Linked DNA regions of Homo sapiens: region 1 is linked to region 2. The links are contacts of gene promoters, found by promoter capture Hi-C in blood cells and fetal thymus (Javierre and others, 2016). All regions are on one chromosome and are shown on one strand. The core of a region is centred on a gene start or on the middle of the fragment in contact, and the rest is flanking DNA. Distances in the headings are between cores, read along the strand shown. Region 1 overlaps LOC283731 (a long non-coding RNA gene). Region 2 holds the start of ISL2 (ISL LIM homeobox 2).

What was found. The method cuts DNA at HindIII sites, captures the fragments that hold promoters and counts their contacts. A CHiCAGO score of 5 or more calls a contact.
Region 1: a fragment that was not itself captured here is called in contact with the fragment with the promoter of ISL2 in region 2 in 2 of 17 cell types (total B cells and naive B cells); the score reaches 7.4 in total B cells.

What each region holds. Positions count from the first base shown.
Region 1 is chr15:74,120,271-74,126,385 of GRCh38, reverse strand. LOC283731 (a long non-coding RNA gene) reads left to right here. Exons shown (of 3, transcript NR_152622.1): 3 at 1-13. It also overlaps a transcript of ISLR2 not described here. Among named protein-coding and RNA genes, the nearest start is that of ISLR2, 7.3 kb to the left of the region's middle. RefSeq lists enhancers at 3,422-3,471, 3,177-3,783. The HindIII fragment of the contact is 2,693 bases long and covers 2,612-5,304 here.
Region 2 is chr15:76,335,326-76,342,213 of GRCh38, reverse strand. ISL2 (ISL LIM homeobox 2) reads right to left here and starts at 5,441. Exons shown (of 6, transcript NM_145805.3): 1 at 5,273-5,441; 2 at 4,247-4,436; 3 at 3,700-3,962; 4 at 1,655-1,938; 5 at 913-1,080; 6 at 1-495. The coding sequence starts at 5,330. The coding sequence ends at 379. RefSeq lists enhancers at 1,321-2,076, 4,121-4,932, 5,358-5,407, 5,101-5,600, 5,412-5,706 and 2 more. The HindIII fragment of the contact is 603 bases long and covers 4,931-5,533 here.

The DNA of each region.
Region 1 (6,115 bases), core at 2,709-5,208, 2.2 Mb after region 2:
GAGACTCTGTCTCAAAAAAAAAAAAAAAAAAAAAAAAATACCTATGCTTTTCGGTCACCTTGAGGATTAAATGAATCAATGTACGCAAAGCACTTAGTACCTGACACTTAGTGCTCAGTACTTGAGATACGTTTTTTATATAATAGCTGAATTAGCCATTATTATTGCCTTGCAGAGTGGGACACAAGTTTGATAAAAGGTTCTGCTGCACACACCCCTACAGGCTTGTGTCCTGCCTCCTCCACAGGGGAGCACCTTGGCTCTGCCCCCAGACCTCTTCACCACCACCACCCCCTTTGCACACACACACACCATGGGTATATGTAGAAACCAGATTTACTATTATTATTTGTAAAGGTTTCTAGTTTCAGATACTTAGACTGATGCTTGTCAGCATGCCTGTTTGCAAAGAGAGACCCGCAACTGCAGACTTGGTGGAAGGTTTTTAATTAAAACTACATTCTGTTTAAGTATTTATTGGACTTTGTGACTTTAATTATTTTCTAGGGAAAAACAAAAAAATCCACATTTGCCTATGAGAAGACTGTTGATTTCAGAGGAAAGTAGCAACCTGTTGCAGTTTGCTGGAGGCAACTGAGAGGAATTTTCTGAATGGTTCAAATGAAGCTCGACATTATTAATAATCTGGGATCCAGCCCATGACCCTCCTCCCAGCATTTTCATGAAATTAGCTTAACGTACTGGCAAGGCCTTTTATTGCCATCAAAATTAACAGCAGCTCTTCCAGTGGCAGCTCATGTAATTATCTGGGTCTGTGCTTGTCTCACTGAATAAGAGGAACTCCTGCCTGGAAGAGGCGATACTCCTGCATTCAAAGGGGAACATGGCTGAGCAAGATGGCTCATGCCTGTAATCCCAGCACTTTGGGATGCCAAGATAGAAGGAATATTTGAGCCCAGGAGTTTAAGACCAGCTTGGGCAACATAGTCAGACCTCATCTCTACATTTTTTTTAAATTAGTTGGGCGTGGTGGCACACAACTGTGGTCCCAGCTACTCTGGAGGGAGACTGAGACCAGAGGATCGCTTGAGCCCAGGAGGTCGAGGCAGCCATAAGCCATGATCACACCACTGCACTCCAGCCTGGGCAACAGAGTGAGACTCTGTCTCAAAACAAAAACAAAAACGAAAACAAAAAACAAAACAAAAAAACACCAAAAAACAAGTAAGGGGGGCGGGATGCAAAATGCTTGGCAATCCCACCCCAATTCAGGCAGGACTGGTTTCCCCAAGAGATTTTCTGAGGCAGCCAGCTCCTCCGTGGCAGGACTTGCCATGGTAAAGGGTAGGGCCGGGTGAGGCAGGGGAGTGGGGGCTGGGGATGATGTGTAATATTTCCATCGGCAAATAACAAGATTCCCACCCCCAAGGATGGAAAGTATTAAGTGTATCGTCTCACAAAGCAGGAAGCAAGGCTGGCTTCCCGGCTGTTGATTCAGCGGCTCAGTGACATCAGCAGTTGCAAGTTCTTTCATCTCTCCCCTCTGCCACCCTTAATAGGGCTTCCAGCCCAAGGACTGGGTCCCTTGGTGCCTTGGTGTCACTGGAGGGCTTCCGGAGCCACCAAGGAAACATACCTATTGTGTTTTTTGTTTTTTTTTCTTTTTAGATGGAGTCTCACTCTTGTTACTCAGGCTGAAGTGCGGTGGCACAATTTTGGCTCACTGCAACCTCCACTTCCTGGGTTCAAGTGATTCTCCTGCCTCGGCCTCCCGAGTTGCTTGGATTACAGGTGCGTGCCACCACACCCCGCTAGTTTTTGTATTTTTAGTAGAGACAGGGTTTCACCATGTTGGCTAGGCTGGTCTCAAACTCTTGACCTCAAGTGATCCTTCCGCCTCAGCCTCCCAAAGTGCTGAAAATTACAGGTGTAAGCCACTGTGCCCAGCCACAAACGTAATGTTAACAGACTAGTGGGTTAGAAAGACAGGCTTCTCTTTTCCGAAGCCACAGCCTCTCCCCTGGGTCTTGACACCTATTGTCATAGGACTGTTTATCTCTGAACCAGTCACTGGTGAAGGGGATGAAACTGATTGGTTCAGAATAATTATCTGGCCCTGATATGGCTATAGAGGAGTCAATCCCAAGGCTCACTACAAGCAAGAAATCCCTTTTAAATAGAAGGATTGGGGAATTGCATGTTCAGAGTAGCCTAATATTGTATCAAAATGAATTGAAATGAGAATGACCAGGATTATAATGGACCATACTAGATACTTCCTTATCTGGAGTTTAGACCAATCTATATCCACAGTCTGAGATCACAGTCAGGGTCAGGGCAGTGTGTGTGACCAACTTCAGGAAACTCTGGTAGGCATACAAACCAGAGGATTCTTTGCTTTCACAGAATTCTTGGATCGATTGATTTATTTTTATACTTATTTATTTATTTGGGCTGAGGATCAAACTGTATTGTCCAGCTGGCCTCAAATCCTGGGCTCAAGTGATCCTCCTGCCTCATCCTCCCAAGTAGCTGTGCCTAGAGGCACACATCGCACCCAGCTCTTTCACGGAATTCTTGAAAGGATAAAAATCTGTTCTTGGAAATGCCTGTGCTGGGATCCAAAGCTATTTTGGGAGCAGTGGAAGCTTCAGTCTTTAGTCGGATATTTATGAACAGGAGATGTTTATGAACTCAAAGATGTCCCTATATGACTTCACATCCTGAACATGTCTCCCAGTCCCATGGCAGAGAAGAGAGGCACTTTTACTGTTGAGGTGGAAAACAGGAGGAATAATTCTACCTTGGTCTTAGGAAAAATGTGGGGCAGTGCAAAGTGGGGCAGACCACACTGGGCTTGGAGCTCCACAACCTGAAAGCTCACTCCAGCTTCACAAACTCTCTAAGTGGTCTTAAGCAACTCCTTGCCCTCTCTCCTTCTAGGTTTCCACCCATGCAATGGTAGGGGAATGGGCTAGATGTGTGTCTTGAGGCCCTTGGGTGCTGTGGCCTTAGAAGAAGCCAGTTTGCAGGTTGAGTTGGGGCTTTTGGGCCGCAGGCTGCCATCTGACAGGGCTTCCTGCAGGAAGACACCCTCCTTGGGAGCCTGGGGTTGTGGCTTCCTCTCTTCCTCATGGCCCTTGGCAATTTCTGTGTCTCCCCTCCCATCACACTGCAACCCGCCTCCCGCCTCATCTCTTGAGGCCCGCTTGGGTCCCAGGAGCTAGCCCCTCCCCCAAACTGCTGTGCACTGCTCTGTGGGCAGAGGGAGTCTTCCTGCTTCAAAACACTTACCAAAGGCTCTTTCCATAGCAAGATTCAGGGGCGGTTGGGGCACTGCTATTTGAGGTTAAAATCTGATCACTGAATATTTTGGGAGCCTGGCACATTGACCAGGAAAGAACAAGGCTGCCACCCCTTCCTGCTCTGCAACTCTCAGTCCTCCATTCCGTGGGGCCATCACAGGACACAGAAAGGCCACAATAAACACACATTCAGAGAACCCCCCACCACCTCCTGTGGCCTCCTGCAGACCGCAGGAGGGCTGGCCCAGAGTCTCCTCCTCCTCCTCCATCCCCCAGACTCAAAGCTCCTGGGGTTGGGGGGCTGCGCAGGGCCTTCCCCTCCACTGTCCCCATCAAAGCCCAGAACAGCACAGGGAGGGCACTTGGTGGGCTGAAATAAAACTGACTTTTCCCTCAGACCTTCAGTCTCTTGCTTTCAATAGACTGTTTTCATTTACTCTTGAAAGTGGCTTCCCAGAAGCAGAGCTGAGACAATGTTTTGTGTGCAGGTGGCTGTTTAAAAAACTGCCCAAGCGAAAAACAACCAGAAGAGAGAAGGGGAAGTAGGAAAGGAAGAGGAAGAAGCTAAGCAAAGGTGTGATTTCAGGCACAGTCTCAATGTTGGACTGATCCCAGGAAGCTCCAGAATGAAAATGAATCCTGTTTGTCCCAATGAGAGGCAGGGAAGCTCACTTCCACAGATGCACAGCAGTCAGACATTGGCCAAGGGCTGCCCCTGGGGGATGGGACTCCCAAGCACTTTCCCCTCTCCTTGCCTGTAGGCAATCAGCTCTAGTAGCCTGGAAAGACTCTGTGAAGTCTGCACCCACCTTAGGGAGATGCAATGACAGCCTTCAAGGATCAGAGAGTCACCCAGCATCAGAGTTTGGGGCCTGGAGGTCCTCTATCCCTTTCACTTTACTGGGAGGGAGACAGAGGCCAAAGAGAGGTCACAGAGCAGTTGGGAATGGGAAATGTCCCCAGCCTATCTGGGCAGTCTGGGTCAAGGACGTGCCAAGCCTGGTGGCTGTGGGTGAGCTTGCTGATTAGGAGGCCCTTGAGGCTCTTGGGCAGGTGTGGCCTCGACAGTGGCAAGGGCAGCTGTCTCTGGGGTGGATGGGACAGGCGCCCCCACTTCAGGTCTCCTGCGTTAGTCCCCCGTACCCCCACTCCATTGCCCACGGGCACTAGAACAGAATCCCATCCATGTGTGGGAGAGACTGATGTTGTACCCTTGAGTTATCTATAATAGGATGCTGACCCCAAATCAGGCCCCATAGAGAGGGCATCTCATCAGGCAGCTGGCTGGGGCAGAGATCTGGAGGGAGGAGAACCCTCCCTGAGGTGGATCCTGGCATGTTGCAGAGATACCTGGAATTCTGTACCCAGGCAAGGCCAGTTCAAATGGCCAAGTCTGGGGGAAGCCAGGCACAATTCAGTGTAAGGGGGTCTAAAGTGGTAGATCAGGGGTTAGGGGACTGTAACTTCTCTTCACTGACTTCCTGTGAGACTTTGGAAGTCTTTCTCCCTTCTCAGCCTCAGTTTCCCCTCCTGTGCTGTGGGGCTCAATTTCCCTCCTTCCTGCCTCATCTTGGGGTTGGGTCTGTCACATTCTCACTCCTCAAGCCTGTCCCTACCAAATCCAAGCTGAGGAAGGGTGCCTCAGTGCAGCGCCTCCCAGGAAAAGATTGCTCAGGTGCTGTCCTCTTCTGTGTCCTCTTCAAAGTGCCCCAAATAGACTTTCCTGGGGAAGCCAGAGGAATCAGGCTATGAAGAGTGACCCCGTGCAGTGCAGCATCTGTGAATCCTGCAGCCCCATCTTCCTGCGTCCTTATCTCCAGACTCAGCTGGGAACTTGATGTATTTATTTGCCTCTCCCAGGGCCCCACTGTGTCCAACCCACATATCTTCCGGCTGTCTGGTAGCCCCGTGCAGGCAAGGAGGGAGGGAATTGCTATAAATCCCTCCAGCCTGCAGCCAGCAGGGTGACCCTGTCAGGTAGAGGAGACAATCAAGGTGGCTTGGAGAGATGGGGACAAAGGCACCAGGAGAAGAAGCTTGGGATAGAGTCACCTAGATACTAAATGGGCTGGAATCAGGGGAGAGGAGAGTGAGAGAGGAAGGGGAAGGGAAGAGGGATAGGGTGGGCAGGGGAGGAGAGAAAAAAGGAGAGAACAGAGGAAAGGAGAACAGAGGAGAGGAGAGGAAGGGCAGGAAGGGAAGAAGCAGACTGCTTTCTAGTGCATTCTGGGAGTCAGCACAATGCCTTCTGGTCTAGGGTGCTGGGTGTATAGAGTTATTTTTTAGTGTGTTGCCAATCACTAAATTTAGTACTTTCTATATGCTGTCTCATTCAATCCTCACAATTTGTGAAGTATGCATTATCACCCCCATTTGCATATGAGATCACAAAGGGTAAGCAGGTTGTCCAAGGTCACACAGCAAAGCTGGGATTTAAAGCCAGGTCCCTCCAAAGCCTATCTTTTAACTTCCACACACACACAGCTCCCTGTTCCCAAGCCGACTCTATGAGTGCACCACCGTAAACCCAGCCACACCCCCCTCACCTACCCTCTGCCTCCCCGTGGGTTGGTCTGACTTTTTTTTTTTTTTTTTTTTGAGATGGAGTCTCTCTCTATTGCCCAGGCTGGTTTGCAGTGGTTCAATCTCGACTCACTGCAACCTCCACCTCCCGGGTTCAAGCGATCCTCCCACCTCAGACTCTGGAGTAGCTTGGGATTACAGGCACACGCCATCACACCCGGCTAATTTTTGTACTTTTAGTAGAAATGGAGCTTCACCATGTTGGCCAGGCTGTTCTCAAACTCCTGACCTAAGGTAGGCAGTTTCCCCATCTGTCTTCATCCTAC
Region 2 (6,888 bases), core at 4,192-6,691:
GAGCGCTGAGCTGGGGCAGGGCGGGGGTCCGCGTGGGCGAGCTCCGGGCCGGCCGAGATGGGGACACAGGTGGGGCGTGGAGAGACAGAGCGGCGGCCACGTAGAGAGGAGAGGAGAGGGCAGAGCTAACCCTGGTAAGTCCCAGATTCTGGTTTTGAAAAACTAAGAGTCCTCGGAGCAGGGGTCTGCAGTCTGGTGAAAGCAGGTTGCATCCTGGCGCCTTGGGCTGTCCAGACCGTGTCTCTCGGTACTCTCTCATAAATAACAATAGAATAATTACGAAGGCGAGAGAGCTTTCGGAACTGGAATGGCCTGAGCATGGGTGAGTCTCATGCAGGGAGCATGCGAGGTCCGCGGGCTGGCAGGGAGGGGTCCCCCTCACGTCTCCACGGGACTCGGCACCATACTGTTGGGGGTGTCCGGGAGCTGCGAGGACAGGGAGGTCACGTCGCTGCCGGAGGAGTTGCCTAGGGAGCCGGACTCGGAGAAGGAGACCTGGGGCGGCGGAAACACCGGGAAGAGGCAGGTGAAGAGGCACGCGAGCTGGTGCTCCAGGGCCGCGTGCTCCGAGTCGGAAAGTGTCCCTTGGGGACCGGCCGCCAGCTGAGAGCAAGCCCTGCGGAGAAGGAGGCCAGGTCCCCAGGCGCACGAGGGGGGGATTAGGGCGGGGGAGCGGGTTGGTTAATCCTGCGACCTCTCTTGTGAGCACTTTAATCCAGGGAGACCTGGTTTAGGGCGCGTAATGGGCCGAGGTGAGGTTTCAGAGCCCGCCACTGTTCCCCCTCCCCCACCGCCTAGGGCTGTACCCAGCCCCTCAGCCCAAGGCCACCCCCTCCCCTCTCTGCCAGGCTAAGTGGCTAAATCCCCAACCCGCAGAGTCCCGAGGTCGGGGCGGGTAGGGCAGGGCCTCACCAGCTGTTGGAAGGCGGGTTGGTCCAGGTCGCTCTGGAGGGCAAACTCGCTGAGCGCCTTCCACGGCGGCTGGTACGTCTGCACCTCCACTGCGCTGCCCTGCACGGCGTTCTCATGGCGGATGGGACTGCCCGCCACCAGGGGCGTCCCAGTCAGTCCCTGAAGGCTCTGCGGGGCAAGCAGAAGGCAGTAGGTGCTCGAGTTAGGTCTGGCCTTTTCTGCCACCTTTGAGACTGGAGCTCCAGGCCTTGAGTGATTTAGGGTCTGCATTGCTTTGCGGGGAGGCGCACACTCGATCGCATCGGAAGAGCCCTCTTTCTCCACTGGGGATCTGCGGGGGCCGCAAACTTGCCACGATAGGTCAGCCTCGGTGCTGGAAGCCAACCGCCCGGTGAGGAAAGGCAAGACCTGCACTCCCACCTTTCTGCAGCTGCCGACGGAGTGCACAACCCACCAGCCCGACTGGCGGGCGCTGCACACTGCCATGCAGCCTTGGGCTCCGCGCAGCGCCCGGAACCCGCAACGCGGGGCTGCCACTGGGACAAGGAGAAACCCCGATCCCAGACAAAATAGGAAGCCTCAAATCCAAGGGAAGCCTTGCTGTGAAGGTACAGACATACACCATCTGGAGCGCCCAGTTCTCCCTGGATCTCCCAGGGCTCGCCCAGAAAAGGGCACGCAGATACCGCGGCGGAAGCGCAGCCCCCACCCGACTCGAGCCTCCGGCCCAGCGGCTGCTCACCGTCTTGTCGCTGTGCTGCTGCTGCTGCAGCTGCTTCATGAGAATGGATTTCTTCTTGTCCTTGCAGCGCTTGTTCTGGAACCAGACGCGGATGACCCGCGGGCTCAGGCCGGTCATCTCCACCAGCTGCTCCTTCATGAGAGCGTCGGGCCGCGGGTTGGCGGCGTAGCAGGTCCGCAGAGTGTGCAGCTGCTTCTCGTTCAGCACAGTCCGCACGCGGGTCGTCTTCTCCGTCTGCTTGTGCACGTGCGGGCGCAACGCGGGCTGCCGGCCCGACCCAGCGTCTGCCAGGACAGGGTGAGGCCAGAGGTTAGCGAGGGGCCGCCACCCACCCGCCCCGAGCCCAACCTCCGGGTGGCCCAGCCCCCCGGGGCCCGATTTCGTTTCTGTTTTATTCTGTTTGTTTCGTTTAATTGTTCGTCTTCCTCTCCATCTGTTCGCCTTACTCGGAGAGAGCTGTGCATTTTCGTTCTTTCTCTCGCTCCCGGGCCGGACTGCCCCGCAGCGATCTCTCCCGAGCTCAAGCAGGGCGCGGGAGCTCGGCGACAGGCCGCTGCGGGGAGGGAGTGGCTGCTCAGGGATGTGCCTCCTCCAGTCGCAGGACCCTCGGAACGAGCGAAGCCCTCCGGAAGAAGTCGGAGTTTCAGAGGAAGAGGAAAGAGGCTTGCCCAGGACTCTGGAGAGGGAAAGGGACCGACGTGGACCCAGGGCGAGGCGCTGCCCAGGGGACTGGGTGGGAGGTGCGAATATGCCGGGGGCCTACGAGGGCCCTTCCCCTCCTTCAGAGCCCATTTGGACAGGGCCAGGCCACATGTGTAGAAGACTCATCCACGGTTATGGACGGGCCTCCAGGGCTTGCAACAGTTCCTTCCTGCCCGCCCTTGGGCTTCGGCCCCTGTCTCCTTCCTCAAGGCTCCAGGTTCCCCAGCCCAGTGGCCTCCCACCGACCAAGGTGCTGAGCAGCCGCTGGCACTCTCCTCGCTTGGCCCCAGGTTCTCTCCATCCCGGGGAAACAGTGACTGATTCCAGAGCCTGCACCCTGAAGCCCGAAACAAACAAAGGGGAGCCTCTCCGAGATCCCAGATGGGGGTGCACTGAATACCCGCTTGCTCCCATTTCACATCTCCATTTGATCCCGACCCATATATACCGTGGATCTGTACTGCACCATTTCGGTTTATGTTCCCCTCTACGAATTTCTAGGTCTGGACAAATATTTACAAATAGCCCATCCAGCCCAGTTTCCTCTTTCTATAGGGAGGAAGTGAAGATCCAGAGAGGGGAGGAGCGGGGCAAGGCCACACAGCACCCAGAGGCCCAGCCTGGTCTACGGATCTGTGCTGCAGGCCTATGGCTACCTGGGGGAAACTGCCTTGCCTGGGGTGGAGGCACCTCTGTTTCTGTTCAGCCGTACCTGCCCATTATACACTCAGACCCCATCTCTGGGCAGCTGCTGATTAGGACCCAGAATATTCCAGTGACAGTCCACTATGCATTGATACTCCCCCTCCCCCAGAAGAACCTGGCTAAATTGTTCATCAAACTGGGCCTCAAAACAAGATGGCAAAAACCCCTCTTTGTTGGGTTCTTGGCTCCTGGCTGACCAAGCTCCTGCCCAGCTCCCAGTTTGGAGCTGTGTTACTTACACACATACCCCTGGGCAAACCTTACCCTCTGACAATAACACATATTCCTCCAAGAAATTCCTAATACAAGCCCCAAGACGGACACCACTTAAGATTCCCTGTTGTCATCCACTCTTCTGCTCCTAGCACTGTGCCCTGCATGTTCCTGGTCATGGAGAACACGATTCTGCACAATTCTCCGTGCTCACACACTCATACACACGCAGTTTCTCCCGAGCACACGAGAATACACACAGCCTTGTTCCCAGCACACAGTTCCGCACTGATACAGAAAAACACTATCCCGGCAGACGGAACCACACACAACTGACAACTTCTCGTTAGGGACACAAGCGTACCCCTACACACACGCACGCACATACACCCCGCTCACCCCGGCACAGGCCCCGGCGCGCTTACCGGGCAGATGCAGGCCGCGGGCGCCGGGAAGCGGGCCGGGGCTGCGCGGGCTGCCGGCCGCGGCGCGCTCGAGCAGGAGGCCGTGGTCGGCGCGGCAGAGCAGCTCGTGCTCCCGCAGCGAGAACTCGTCCCCAGGCAGCAGCTGGCGGCTGCACACGGAGCAGCGGAAGCACTCGATGTGGTACACGCTGTCCCGCGCCCTCATCACCAGGTCGCTGCTGCTGAAGCCCACCTGGCACTTGGCGCACTTGATGCCGAACAGCCTGCGGGCCCAAGGTGCGGCGGTGTCAGCGCTGGGCCTGCGGCCGCCCTCATCTCCCTGGCTGCTACGGCTCCGGCGCGCGCCCAGGACACTTTGTGGCCACCAGGAGACTGCGGTGACCCGCCTGCGGGCATTCCCGGGCCCGGGGGAGCGCTGCGGCACCCGTGCGGGATGCGGATGGCCTTCTCCCTGGGCAGGGCCGGGGCGCGCGGGCAGGCCGCCATCCCCAGTCCCGGCCCCGGCCCCTGCGCGCGGTGGCCCAGCCCGCGTTCCCGCCGGCCTCACCTGACATAGTCCCGCTTGCAGTAGGTCTTCCCGTCTCTCACGAAGCACGTGCACGTCTCGTCCAGGTACTGGCTGCACTCGGCACACTTGAGGCAGGCCGCGTGCCACTCGAGGTCGGGCGACACCCGCAGGATAAACTGGTCGTGGATCTGACTCCCGCAGCCCACGCACATGGCCGTCCCGGGCTTCTCTGCCGGGGAAGGGCGCGGGGCCGCGTCAGGCCTGACTGCCCGGACCCAGGCCGGCCTCGGCTACTCCAGCCCCAACCCAACCCGCTCGCTCTCTTGCTCTTTCTTTCAAGACTTGCGACCATAAGGAAAGATGATGAGCTCTCTAAAGGTCCAGGGCATTGGAAACGAAAAACCAGTATCTTGTGGATTGCTGAAGGTTTCTTCTGTCCCCCACCCCAAATATTTCGTTATTACATTCATTAATGACAGTCGTTTTGTCGACGTGTCTTGAAACTAAACGCAAACACGAAACTAAGAAGAGAGTAAATACACAGGCACTGCGGACGCCTGGATATCAACACCTAACGGTGCTGTCCTGGCATTTCCGCTCACACACTCCCACTCACAGCGGCTGCCTCCTATCCCAACACAGACACATCGTCTTTCGGCAGTCCCCGCTCATCCTCTCAGACATTTCTTAGTTTAAATATCCCAGAGCAAGCGAAAGAAAGCTTCCTAGCTTTGAAAAACCGAAAGGCAAACAAACAACAACCAAAAAAAAAAAAACCCACATCCCTAAATCAAACCTAATTGCCTTTGCGCAAAACAGAAGCAGATTTCGCAGCCCGAAGTCATCCTAGCCGGCTTGAGAAATAGTGTTTACTTATAAAATAAAACAACAGGATTCCCAAAGATAAGCAGTCCTGCAGGAGACATGCATTCGTTTTTCCTCTCCTAAACTATTCTGACAAATAGAAGCCACTTGTAGAATCCACTAAACATTTTTCTGCATTAGAAATTTTGCATATTAAGCATACACACACACCCCACCCCACACACACACAGAAATACTTACTCTTGGAATGATCACCCATAGCACCCAGAAAAGGATAATGAAAAATAATATCCACCATGCAGAAAAAGAGATGTGCGCAAAGTGTGCGGCCAGGGGCAGAAGGACGAGGGTCGCGCGCCCGGCCTCGGCTCTTTGCTAACTAACTCCTACTGCCCCGCGGAGTTGAAGGAGCGATTCCGCACCGGCCCGCACGCAGCATGACGTCAACACGCACTAGCCCCGGGCCGGAGCTGGGGGCGGGACCTGTGGCGTCACGAAGCTTCCCCAGAACTGCCGGGGATGCGGGGGAGGTGATGGGGATCCAGGGGCTGATGGGCGGGGTGGGTTGGGTTGGAGGCTGGGGGTGAAGGGAGATTGGCTGGGAGGAAGTGGGCCAACCCTGATTGGCCCGGAGTGAACAATGGAGTGCAGCCCCCCCACCTCCGAAACCTACAAGGATCCTCTCTCATGCCCCGGGCCTGGCAATCTGGACTGGACCTTGCGTCACCGCCGAGCTGGCTCCGCGGCCGTTACAACTCTGAGCTTCCTCTTGGACTTTCGGGGCGGTTTTCCCAGGCGCGCTGGAGCTGGGTGATGGATACCTGAGGGTGGAGATGGCTCTCCTTTAAGAGCTCCCTTCTTATATAAATTAAAAAAAAAAAAATTAAACCCACTCTCAGGACGAGAGAGCCGAGGACAAGGGGGATCCGTTTGGACGTGACCGTCATCGTCCAGCTGGTCACCTTTCTCCTCTCATGTGCCTTTGTTCTTCGGGTCCAAGCTAGAGAGAGTGTAGAGAATGACCACCTGGGTTCTGATAAACTCTATTTAGACTTTCCTATCCACACACACGTAGAAAACTTTAGATTGGGGCATTACGTGGGTTGAGCCAGAACCCAGATCCAAAAGCGCTCACCCGGGACTGGGACGGGTCCTGACTCCATCCTTGCTGCTGCTGCCGCTGCTGCTGCCCCTCCTCCCTCTCCTCCACCACCACCTCCTCCTCCTGCTCCACTTCCTTTTTTTTGTTGTTTTGTTTTGCTTTTAATTTGTTGCTGTTGTTGTTTTAAATGTAACATGGACTTCCCCGCCCCCTCATTTTTCCCCCATCCAAATGGCATAGCTCCTTTTAGGAACACTGCTGGGGTCGATTGCGTGTCCAACTTCCAAAATAAAAGATTTTTCTAAACTCTTGTCCTTCATTAACAAACCCACTGCAATGCAAATAATCAGAAACGAACGTAAGGCGCTGGGTAATTTACAGTGGTATCTGCGAGGCGGCGGCTCGTTGGTCCTGAGAAAATCTGAGAGCTCTGAGCACAGTCCAGGCATTCTTTCAAAGAAATCGCTGTGGGTTTTGTTTGAAAGGGTTCAAAGACCGGCCCATGAATTATAAATAACATTTATCCAACCATGGTGTCTGTTCTTGTTTTCCCATTAAAAGGAGTACCAAGAACTTGGTGTGCGCCTGGGTGGGGCGCGAGGTGAAACGCCTGCGGATAAAGTGTCTCCACCGCCATTCCAGACCCTGCCCAGACCTTCGGGCTTGTGGGCCTGAGGGCGCGGTCGCTACTGCCGTTCTACTAAGAGCATGAGGTTGGTTGGCGTCGAAACGGATGCAGCCGAGGGCGCAGGCC